3 separate regions of the Homo sapiens genome follow, and regions 1 and 2 are each linked to region 3. Evidence: promoter capture Hi-C in 16 types of primary human blood cells and fetal thymus (Javierre and others, 2016). All regions are on one chromosome and are shown on one strand. Each heading gives the region's core, a stretch centred on a gene start or on the middle of the fragment in contact. The rest is flanking DNA. Distances are from core to core; before and after follow the strand shown. Region 1 overlaps DERA (deoxyribose-phosphate aldolase). Region 2 overlaps DERA (deoxyribose-phosphate aldolase). Region 3 holds the start of MGST1 (microsomal glutathione S-transferase 1).

Evidence for each region. The method cuts DNA at HindIII sites, captures the fragments that hold promoters and counts their contacts. A CHiCAGO score of 5 or more calls a contact.
Region 1: a contact is called between a fragment that was not itself captured here and the fragment with the promoter of MGST1 in region 3, in 1 of 17 cell types (M1 macrophages). The highest score is 5.3, in M1 macrophages.
Region 2: a contact is called between a fragment that was not itself captured here and the fragment with the promoter of MGST1 in region 3, in 1 of 17 cell types (megakaryocytes). The highest score is 6.5, in megakaryocytes.

The regions. Positions count from the first base shown.
Region 1 is chr12:16,016,641-16,020,073 of GRCh38, reverse strand. All of the region lies in intron 6 of DERA (deoxyribose-phosphate aldolase), which reads right to left. Among named protein-coding and RNA genes, the nearest start is that of DERA, 110 kb to the right of the region's middle. RefSeq lists an enhancer at 1,184-2,418. The HindIII fragment of the contact is 593 bases long and covers 1,357-1,949 here.
Region 2 is chr12:15,994,720-15,998,330 of GRCh38, reverse strand. All of the region lies in intron 6 of DERA (deoxyribose-phosphate aldolase), which reads right to left. Among named protein-coding and RNA genes, the nearest start is that of DERA, 85 kb to the right of the region's middle. The HindIII fragment of the contact is 4,111 bases long and covers 217-3,611 here.
Region 3 is chr12:16,346,295-16,349,598 of GRCh38, reverse strand. It overlaps MGST1 (microsomal glutathione S-transferase 1), which reads right to left and starts at 1,954. Exons shown (of 4, transcript NM_020300.5): 1 at 1,889-1,954. RefSeq lists enhancers at 75-1,004, 1,935-2,864. The HindIII fragment of the contact is 2,670 bases long and covers 1-2,626 here.

The sequences.
Region 1 (3,433 bases), core at 404-2,903, 330 kb after region 3:
AGGCTTACAATCACAGCAGAAAGCAAAGAGAGCAGGCATGTCAGATGGCGAGAGTGGGAGTGAGATGCGGGGAGGTGCCATGCTCTTTTAAAAAACCAGATCTCATGTGAGCTCAGAGCAAGAAATCACTCATCACCAAAAGGGATGGTGCTAAAGCCATTCATGAAGGATCTACCTCCATGATCCAATCCCCTCCCACCAGGCCCCATCTCTAACACTGGGAATCACATTTCAACATGTGAGTTGGAAGGGACAAAAATCCAAACTATATCATATGCCCAGTAAGTATTATGATCAATAAGAATTACAAAGGATCAGAGAAATAACTTTAGCTAGAATAATACGGGAAGGCTTCATGGAACAGATGGAATGTGTTACAGACCTTCAAGGAGAGACAAAATTTAAAGATGAGAGGGCACACATGGAAGAACACCACCATAAAAAGAAACACCAAAAGCAAAGAAAGTATATGGCATACCAAATAATGAAAGAATACATCTAAGAAGTCTGTGTTGGAGGTGAGGTGGGAGGAGGGACATATACACAGATATATGAATGTATGTTTTAGAAGATGTGACTGTAAATATCCCTTAGGAAAATATTATAGAGAGCTTTGAACCCACAGACATTGGGCTCTGTTCTTTAGGTAATGTGAGGTCTGATCACATGAAATCAGTGTTTTAAGATGCTAAATTTAGTGTCTGTATTGGATGTGTTGAGAAAGGACAATTGAGAGTCAGAGACCACAAGATATTAAAAATAGTTCAGGCATGCAGACACTGGCTATTTTTTAAGTGAGGAATAAGACCTAGCTTTAATTACACAAAATATTTTAGAAAGTACATCATTACTTTACTGCTGTCAAAAGAAAAATGGATTTTCCAATGGGACTAAGTAGGACACACTTTTGTTTTACTTCTCATTTTAACATTGCTTCCTTTGCCCTTCTGCTAAAACGAAATTACTTTAGAGAAATAAATGCTACATTTTGAATTACCAACACCACACAGCACTACAGACTCTCTTCAGAGCTCACATAAATCTAACATTAGCCAAGCTTACCTCTGCTCAGCTTGGGGACAAAAATCTTATGAGAAAATATCTCAAATTACAATAGCTATCCCTATAAATGTTCTTTCATCAGTGCCCACAATTTCAACTAAATGACTAAACTAAGAGATGAAAGGGCTGAAAAAGTCAAAAGGAACACACTAAGTAGACTAATATTCAACTGTGATTAGTTGAAATTAAAATTAATAATAAATTTATAGTATTATATTAAATTGTATTTTTTATTTTCCTAATTTGAAATCTTTAGCACAATACTATTTTTGTGGTCTAAGGCAACTCAAAGCTTTTCTAAGGACTATAATTACAAGTCTCCATGGTACAGTTTCATTAAAAACTTTCATTAAACAACAGCTGCCCTTGTATATGGTCTTCTAATCAATTTGGTCAAACAGAATGACTTCTAATCAGCTGTTGATAAAAATAGAAGATGAAATTTTAATTCTAATAGATTAACCACAAACTCAAGACAGTCTTCAAAATCCATCTAGCTCTATTCTCCAGTGGATTTAATGACTATTCAGCAACTCATTACTAAATAGAACAAGATGAACATTTTCCAGTTCATTAAAGAAATGTACTATGTATTTTTGCATTGTCCTCATGATTCGTTACAGGGAGTCTTAATTACAAGATAATGGATAATTGTTATTAAATGCAGACTGCAATAATGAAGCTCTATTCATTTGCGAACCTCAGAGACTGCAAAGAGAGGAAAATAAAATTACTAGCTTCAAAAGATTAACGGATCAAATTATTATTCAATTTTGAAAATCTCATTCAGACTTCATAGAAACAAGAAGAGATTAAAAACTAGTATTAAGACCAAAGTAGTATATTTAAAAAAATAATATCTTAAGGCTACTACTGTATAATAAGCTTCGGATGTGATTATTAGAAAAACATATAGCTAACAATGGGAAAACACACATTTTTATTTCTTGAACAAATCTTATTTATGTTATAGGAAGTTACTAGTAAGATCTTAAAAAGAGTCCATGGTGAACAGGGAAGATATATGCTGCTATGCTACAAAAGAACAGCACAGTGGAAGGTATTATTAACATTTTATACTTCACTAATGAAAAGTAGGATTTCAAATCAACTGCTGCTTGAGAAAGCTTGTCATTAAGTGGAATTCATACCAACCCTATAATAAGAGCTTTTGGGTACATTATTCATTAGCATCATGTTTTCTATTGCTGAGAAATTACCGATTAAAGTTAGAAAGAGAGTTTCGTATGGTAATTCCGACACTAACTTATACTTGCAATCTGCAATGGGACACTTGGAAAAAAATTAAGCAGGGTATGCAAAGATATAAGCCCTCAAATTAAAAGTCTTCAATATTGTATTCTTTTGTTCAACATAGGTTTGGAAATCACTTAGGGCAATATAATAAAGATGCAGTGTTACGGTTGAAGCACTGGCCAGAGTACATATGGAAGCAGAAAGCCCCTCTGGAGGTATCAATGTGATACTAATACTAAATCTGGAGACTGTGATTCCACAAAGACATGCTTACATGATCCAAGGATAATTAGCTACCCATGTGAGAAAGGGGGTAAAGAGAAAGAGAGAAAGAAAAGCATAAGAAGAAAAATGAAAAATTCAAACACCTGCTCTTTCCAGTGCTTTCTTCCAATCTGAATAGTGAGCTACAGAGTAATTCTCTGTCGGTCCAGTCCATCACGTTAGCAATGCAATAGAACACGATAACTAAGCAATGATGCTTGTTTAAGCATAATGGCAGTCAGAAAGAAATCACAATTTTAGGGTTGGAAAATATCTCCAATGCCCCAAAGGAAAGATGATCTTATGATAACCACATTTCTTCCGGATGCCTTCCCCTCAATAAAAATAAAGTTGCAACCATTTAAAATAATGCAAAACAGTATGATTTAAGTGGAATACAAAGTGGGGACTCTGACTGTATAATCCTTGGTTACTGACTAGGAGAAGATTCTGCATAATTATGCAAACCCTTCAAAATACTGGTAGACGCACCTGATCGAAACAAGCACCTGATTGAAACAAAAGTCCTTGAGTATGTCCAGTAAGTCAGATGTTCCCTTTCCTTTTAAAACTTAAGGTGTTCAAAATGAACTGTAGTAATGCCAGAAATAAGTTACTAATCAAAGTACATAACTTCTATTTTTAGAGTGGGTTTAAGTTAATCTTTCTTTCTTTTTTTTTTTTTTTTTTTTTTTTTTTGAGACAGGGTCTCACTCTGTCGCCCAGGCTGGAGTGCAGTGGTGCAATCATGGCTCACTGCAGCCTTGACCTCCTGGGTTCAAGAGATCCTCTTGCCTCAGCCCTCCACGTAGCTGGGAGTACAGGTGCACAGCACCACACCAGCTAATTT
Region 2 (3,611 bases), core at 1,023-3,522, 350 kb after region 3:
AAATAAATAAATAAATAAAGGAAAGACTTCCTGTGTTAACATTAGGAAAGCTAGATCCTAGATCAGAGGTTCTCATTCCTGCCCACACAGCAGAAGCAACTGGAGAAGTTTTAAAATGCATGTTTCTCAAAGTATGAATTTCCTTGGCTCCGTTCATGACCCCTGAAATCACAATCTCTGGTAGGAAGATCATTGCAACAGTTCATTAAAGAAGCTTGCCAGGAAACTCTAATGTGCAGCCCAGGTTGAGAACCTTGTTCTAGACTCTGTGTTTTGACTTTAGTTATTTGTCCTCGGGCAAATTTCTTATGAATTTGACCTTTCTGGATCTTGGTTTTCTCACCTTTAAAATGAGAGGTTTGAGGTTAATGGAGCTTCTTTACACTTTATAATCTTTATAGTTTTCTAAGCATTTACAATTTCTCTGAGTTCACTTTCGAATGTTTATTTGCTCTGTTTCTCTTGGCTTATATCTGACAATGTACAAATAATGGGGAAAAGGCAATGAATTTGTAAACACCTTTTAGTGATTTTTGACAAAAGGGGTGACAGGCAAAAGTTCAATTTGAAAAGTATGTTCTCTACATAATTTACTAGCTGCTGGGCAGACTAAACGTTACATATACAATCAATGGATTTTATGGATTTTTTTAGAGCCACGTTAAAATTTAAAAAGAGAAAAAAGTTCCATGCTATATTTCCCTGTCTTTAGATATGTAGTTTCCTCATTCTAACAATGACTCTTTTGCATACGATTCCGTTAAAGTCATGACTGCAGAATAAGCTGATGATTTCAAGAACGCCCCCTAACTCAAGTATTTTTACCGAACACCTTGCTGAGCAATGTAACACGCAGGGCCCTTCATTTCTTTATTCTAGTGATGGCAATGTAACCTTTGTCTTGCTTCAACCAATTTTTCCCTGTTAACATATCTTTCCAAATTAAAAAAAAAATCATTTTTTTCATTCATTTGGCTTATAAAGTAATCCTAGAAGCCTGCAAATATTTTTTTTAAACAGCAAATAAAGAAATATTCACCCATGCGGAGGAAAAGAGAACACAAGAGAATTGCCTGCTCCATTTTATAATATTATGGTACATTGTGTAGTCTTGTGTCAGTATTTATTATCAGTCATTTAGTTTATGATAGAGAATAACTTTTGATTACTGATGCTTGTAGTATTACTCACTCTGTCTTGGACTGTTTGAAGATCTGTATTTTTATTACAAAGTCCAATAAAAATAAAGTGAAAAACCCATAGGTCCCAAAACTGATTCCTGGCTTGTGCTATATGTCACTCCTTTCCAATCTAAAAAGTATTTCCTTCTACTGTTAGTATCTGTCTCTTGCTCATAAGCAAATTTATCTCCTAATGCCTCATTCTTTATTTTAGTCATTAATCTCCCATTGAGAACCTTACCAAATGCTTTTTGCAGATAAAAATATTTAATATCTACTAGATTTCCCCTATCCACAAAACCATTCAACATTGCTGAGAGGGAAAAATCAATCTTTTGTACCTGAATTCAAGTTTGCTGGGTTTGAGTCAAAATATTTTTCTCTAACTTCTTCAGGTCTTCTTGACAGAAAATAATAAGACCATAAAGCAAGAATCCTATTTCTCTTTGCTTTGAATTGTTTCCCCCAAAAAAGAGATGTCAAAATCTCACCCCTCAATACCTCAGGAAGAGACCTTATTTGGAAAGAGGGCCACTGAAGATGTCATTAGTTAAGATAAGGTCATACTGAGTAAGGTGGGCCATTACATTACTGGTTTCCTTATAAGAAGAGGAGAAGAGACACAGACAGAGACACACAGAGGGAAGACAGCCATCTAGTGACAGAGGCAGAGACTGGAGTGAAGCCAAGGTATGTCAAGCATTGCTGGCAAACACCAGAAGCCAGAATAAGCAAGAAGGGCTTGCCTACAGGTTTCAGAGGGAGCATAAGCCTGCTGACACCCTGACTGCGGGCTTCTGGCCTCCAGAACCTTAAGAACACATTTCTGTTGCTTAAGGCCATCTAATTTGCGGTACTCTGTTACAGCGAGCCCAAGAAACTAATACACTCCTCTTTTCCCATGTTTTCTATATTTTGGGGCCCTGTGTATACTGGATTGTAATCTACTCTTAAATTACACACACACACACACACACACACACACACACACATGCTCTGTGTGTGTGTCTGTGTCTGCATATGAAATAATTTTCTCTTCTGCATAGAATCACATTAACTCTGAAAGAGAAGGCATCTCTAATGTTTGCTGAGTCTGTCTTAGTGTAGCTCCATCAGGCTCACTCAGCCTGTGCCTCGAACGTCTCCTACCTCCTGATGTGGCGCACCCAATTTCCAGGTGATTCAGACACTGACGAAATTCTTCCTATAATAACTAGCTCAAAAGCCATCTTCCCACAATGTCTAAAAGTTGGTCCTAGTCCTACTACTTTGAGTTAAGAGAGAAAAATCTTCCTTTATCAGGAAAATCTTCCAAGTATTTGAACATAATATTACAACCCCAAGGATTTTCCTCCTCCTAATTAGATGTCCACTTTCTTTCCAACCACTCTTCATGAGAAGGGTTCAATTTATCTCATCCTGTGCTGTGACTTCCCTCTAAATATTCTGATACCACTTCCATTCTCCCATACCCCTCCATCCTCCCTACTCTATTCCTTCATTTTCAGACTGCCTTCAGCTTTAACATCTCTCCTACTCCTCCATCAGGTGGAAAACAGAAAGATCTGCTTTTCTTGTCACTCCCTAGCTGTTCTCTGGGCACCCTAGGTAAGAGAGTCTGGAAGAAAAGTACAGAACTCAAGTGGCAGTTGTATCACAACCCTGGTTAATTTTCTAAGTGCATCACTACAGGGACATCAACAGAGTAGCTAAACACAAATAACAGTGGAAGCAGCCTGAGAAGAGATCTTTTAGCTCTGGGCACCCTACCTTTTCTTTTCAACAAGGAGTTACTGTGGGCCAATCATAGGCAGGTGGCCCCGGGCTTGCTGTCATTTTTCTCTTTTATATTGATTTCATGTTCACCAACTCCTATAAATTTCTGCAAACACCTTGCCTCTCTATAGAAACACCTTGCCATTATGTCTTCCTTTTCTTGCCCTCAACAGAAAAGTAAAGTGCAACATACAATCTCATTCAGGGCCTCTAGAAACATCTGTGCCTCCAAAAGTTAAACACAGCTTATAAATATTATCTGATATACAGATCAATTGCAGGATAGAGAGCAGGGTTGTGCATTAATAAAAGCATGGAGTTTAGAGTCAAAAGTCCTTCAGAAAATTCTGCCACTTACTCAGTGTGTGGCCTTGGTCTATTCACTTAACTTCTGAGCTTCAGGTTTTCATCTACTAAAAGATGATAATAAGATACCTCTCCTCCCTCCCTCCCTCTTGGGATTACTGCAGAAAGAATTTATAAACTACCAACTTCACATGATTTATTACTCTTTTTTCATTTATTCATTCAATAAATATGCATAATCAAGCATCTACCTGGTACAATATACTGAGGGATCCATTCAAGGATTCCAATTTCCCACCATTTTAAGAATTTTCTGGCCAGGCGCGGTGGCTCACGCCTGTAATCCCA
Region 3 (3,304 bases), core at 705-3,204:
GCAAATAATATTTTTTTCTACCTTTAGTATGTAAGGAAATTAAGGCCCAGAAAAGTAGTGAGTAATATGACCCAAATTCACAGTGGAGAGACCAAGACTGCAACTTAGTTTTCTCAAGTGTTTACCTCTGGGCTACCCACCATCAAGGCTAAGAATTCTCAACAGCTCTGGTCTTCTGGAGGCCTTTCCTTGTCAAATCTCATTCCTGTTTTCTACCCCTCCCCCCAAACCCCCGTACTATCTAGCAGAGAAGAATCTTCACTTCTCAGTTGAGGAACGCCCTTTCCCTTTACAGGCTTTTGGCCAAAATGAGCAAAGTTCTCTTCTCAGGATGAGGTGGCCAGCCTTTCTGCATCAATATTGTGAAACACATGAATAATCTGGGCACGCATCCCCAGGGCCATGACTCTGCAATTTTGTACCTTCTAAAACTAACAAACACTACACATGAGATAAAGAAAAAAGATAATTCGGTGGCCATGTTGCGGATACGTTAATCTGGAACTCTAGATGAATTCTAGCATTTCCTGAAGGCATCGTGGTGGCTGCAGACTCAGCCCACTATGTGGTCTCATGCAAAGTGGGGTTCAGAGCCCAGAGGCTGCAGGTGAAATGCTGGTGCCTCTCGGGAGAGTGGTGGGGTAAGGCCTTTCTCTGTGCTGACCTGACCTCCTTTTCCAATCTCAGGGATTCATAGACACCACTCTAAAACAAAGCGGTAGAAAAATTTTACTCGTCTGCCAGAGAGGGTAATATCCAAATTTGGACTGATTTGCCTTTTTTTTTTTTTTTTTTTTAATTACCAAAGATAATCGCACACATAGCCCTCTTATTTTGGAAACAGCAGAGGACAACAAAGTCCAGTACTATCCTAAGGCCAAGAAAAGCATATGCAAAAGGTAGGTGTAGGCTGGGACTCACAGCAGGCTGGGACCCCAGGAAAACTGGGCTTTAAGGATTGCTCACTGGAGGCCTGGGTGCTATACAGCAATGCTTGCGGGCACCCACTCAGCACTCACTGGGTAAGAAATTAGGGAGAAGAAATAGGGGAATATAAACGTGGAGCTCAGACTGCCACATTTCAAGAGAAGCAGAGAGACTAGAAGATTTACATGCACTCCTCTCTCCTCTGTCCCAAGCCAGCTAGAGCAATATATGACACCTTAATTCCCGAAAAAGAGAGTTCCCTTCTCCTTTTCTCCTTCCACATGGCTTCCTCCTCCAGACTGGGGAAGTGGGGCACAGGTGAGAACCGTCCCAAGGGGCTCACCCTTAGCTCTCTTGTCACTGGCTATAATATCACACAAAAATATTATCATCTAACCCACATCCTCTTGTTTCGATAGCTAGCATTATTAGCAGTAGTATTATTTAGTATTATTTTAAAACTTGCTGATGTTTCTCCTATCAAAGTGAACTCAGAAGAGCAAATCCTGCCTTACAATAGGCATAAAGGCCACTATGCCCATGAAACCTGAGACATCGCAGGCTTTTGCACTCTTGGGGAGAACAGCAGTCGTTCAAACTACAGGCATTTCCTCCATTACTACACGTGCCTTTTCCTCCTTCCCCAGAGTTCAAGGGACCCTTTCAAACAGGAGGTTACTTTGACTTGAAAAGGCTAAGTTTGGAAATCATCACTCAAGCATGAAAAGACTCTCTCGTTTCATTCCTGGAGTTTGAGAAATGGGAAAACTTACCCGCACGGGGACAGAAATACAATTCCCTTTCAAAAGCGATCGATTGAAAAGCTAAGTTTAGCTGCTAAGTGGAGCCAAGCACTTCCAGCTGGCAGAGACCCCCCCAAGTCTTCCATCTGCCACCCACCCTGGCCCTCCCTGCCTGCCACCCTTTGCATGCGGTCCCCTTCTCCCCTCCCAGTACGCACGGTGAGGCCGAGGAGGAGGAAGCAGCAAGCCTGTCCCGCCGCCGGGTCGCGCGCAATGCAGGGACTGTGGCCGCGCGGGCCGGACGCAGGCACCGCCCCTCTCCAGTTAATCTCCTGTTAATTAGCCCTCCCACGTTTAAAGCCCGACCCCAACCTCGCCAAACCCCTCCTCTAAATCACCTGATTTACCCGCCCACAGTAACCATCGCCTGCTGATTCCCTTTGAGCCCTTCTATTTGGCGCCCTTAGAAACTCTGGTTCCTGAAATGCCAACTCCCCTAATCAGTGGGAAGGGGGACAGTAGCCATTGTCTAGGAACTCTGAATTCTCGAACATTTCAGGATCAGCAGAGTTTTGGAAGTTGTTTTTAAAAACTTCGCAGAAAGTTAAAATCTCCAGGGTAGAACTAATTAGCAGGCATTGACAATATTACCTTCCCTTAGACTTCACCTCCCCTGCGCTGGTGGCAAGGCCTCCTTAAAAGGCTGACAATGACAGAATGTAACCCTCAGTAAAGATCACTTACGGTGTTCCAAATTCATGATACCAGACAATTTGCTTTGTCACGATGTCCCCTCCTGTTCAGGGTCCAGAATGAAATTGGAGGCAATTGTACTGGATCAGCTCATTACACAATCAGCTTAGTGTGTTTTTTACAGGGAGGTTTAGAGGAACGTTTACGGAAGCCGTAGATATTTAGCCTACCATCACTATCTAGATTAGGGATACTTCCAAGCTTCCTAGTCCCCATAGTCCCCACAATATTTATGGATCTATCTTTCATGGGTTTATATGAGAAATGTTTAAGGATTTCTGTTTTCAATCTATATTATTTCTCTCCTAGTGCTATATCTCAGACACTCACCACCTGTTGCAAGGTCTACTTCCTTTTTTTGCTCTTAATTTACTCCTTTAGGCTTTAAAGGATATCCCTAGGACTAACTTTCTAGGATGTGATGGACAAGTTCATGTTCTATTAAAGAAAGAAATAACTACCAGTTTGCTCTAGGAACAGAAATTAATCCAAGGAAGGTCTGAGAATGATTTCTATATAAGCATAACAGTAGGAGTTTTGGAAAATCTAGCATCAGAAGGCATCTGTTCTTCACTTTTATGTCTGTATCTTTTCAAAACTCTACTTATTCACCTATCTTTGTAAAGTATACTAGAATCTGTCTGTAACATTAACTGGAATAGGATAGAATTTGAGATGACATAAATCTATTCTGAATTCTCTCCAAAGGAGTTTGGTATTATAAGAATTTAAGACTCTCTTCATTTATTATAAGGTGATACAGGCCAAATCTTATGGATAACATGGCAGAAAAAGGAAGAGGAGAGCTACTGTTTAGATAATTTGGTCTACAGAATGCTAGTTGAATGGTTCTAACATTTTTTTTTTTTTTTTTTTGAGAC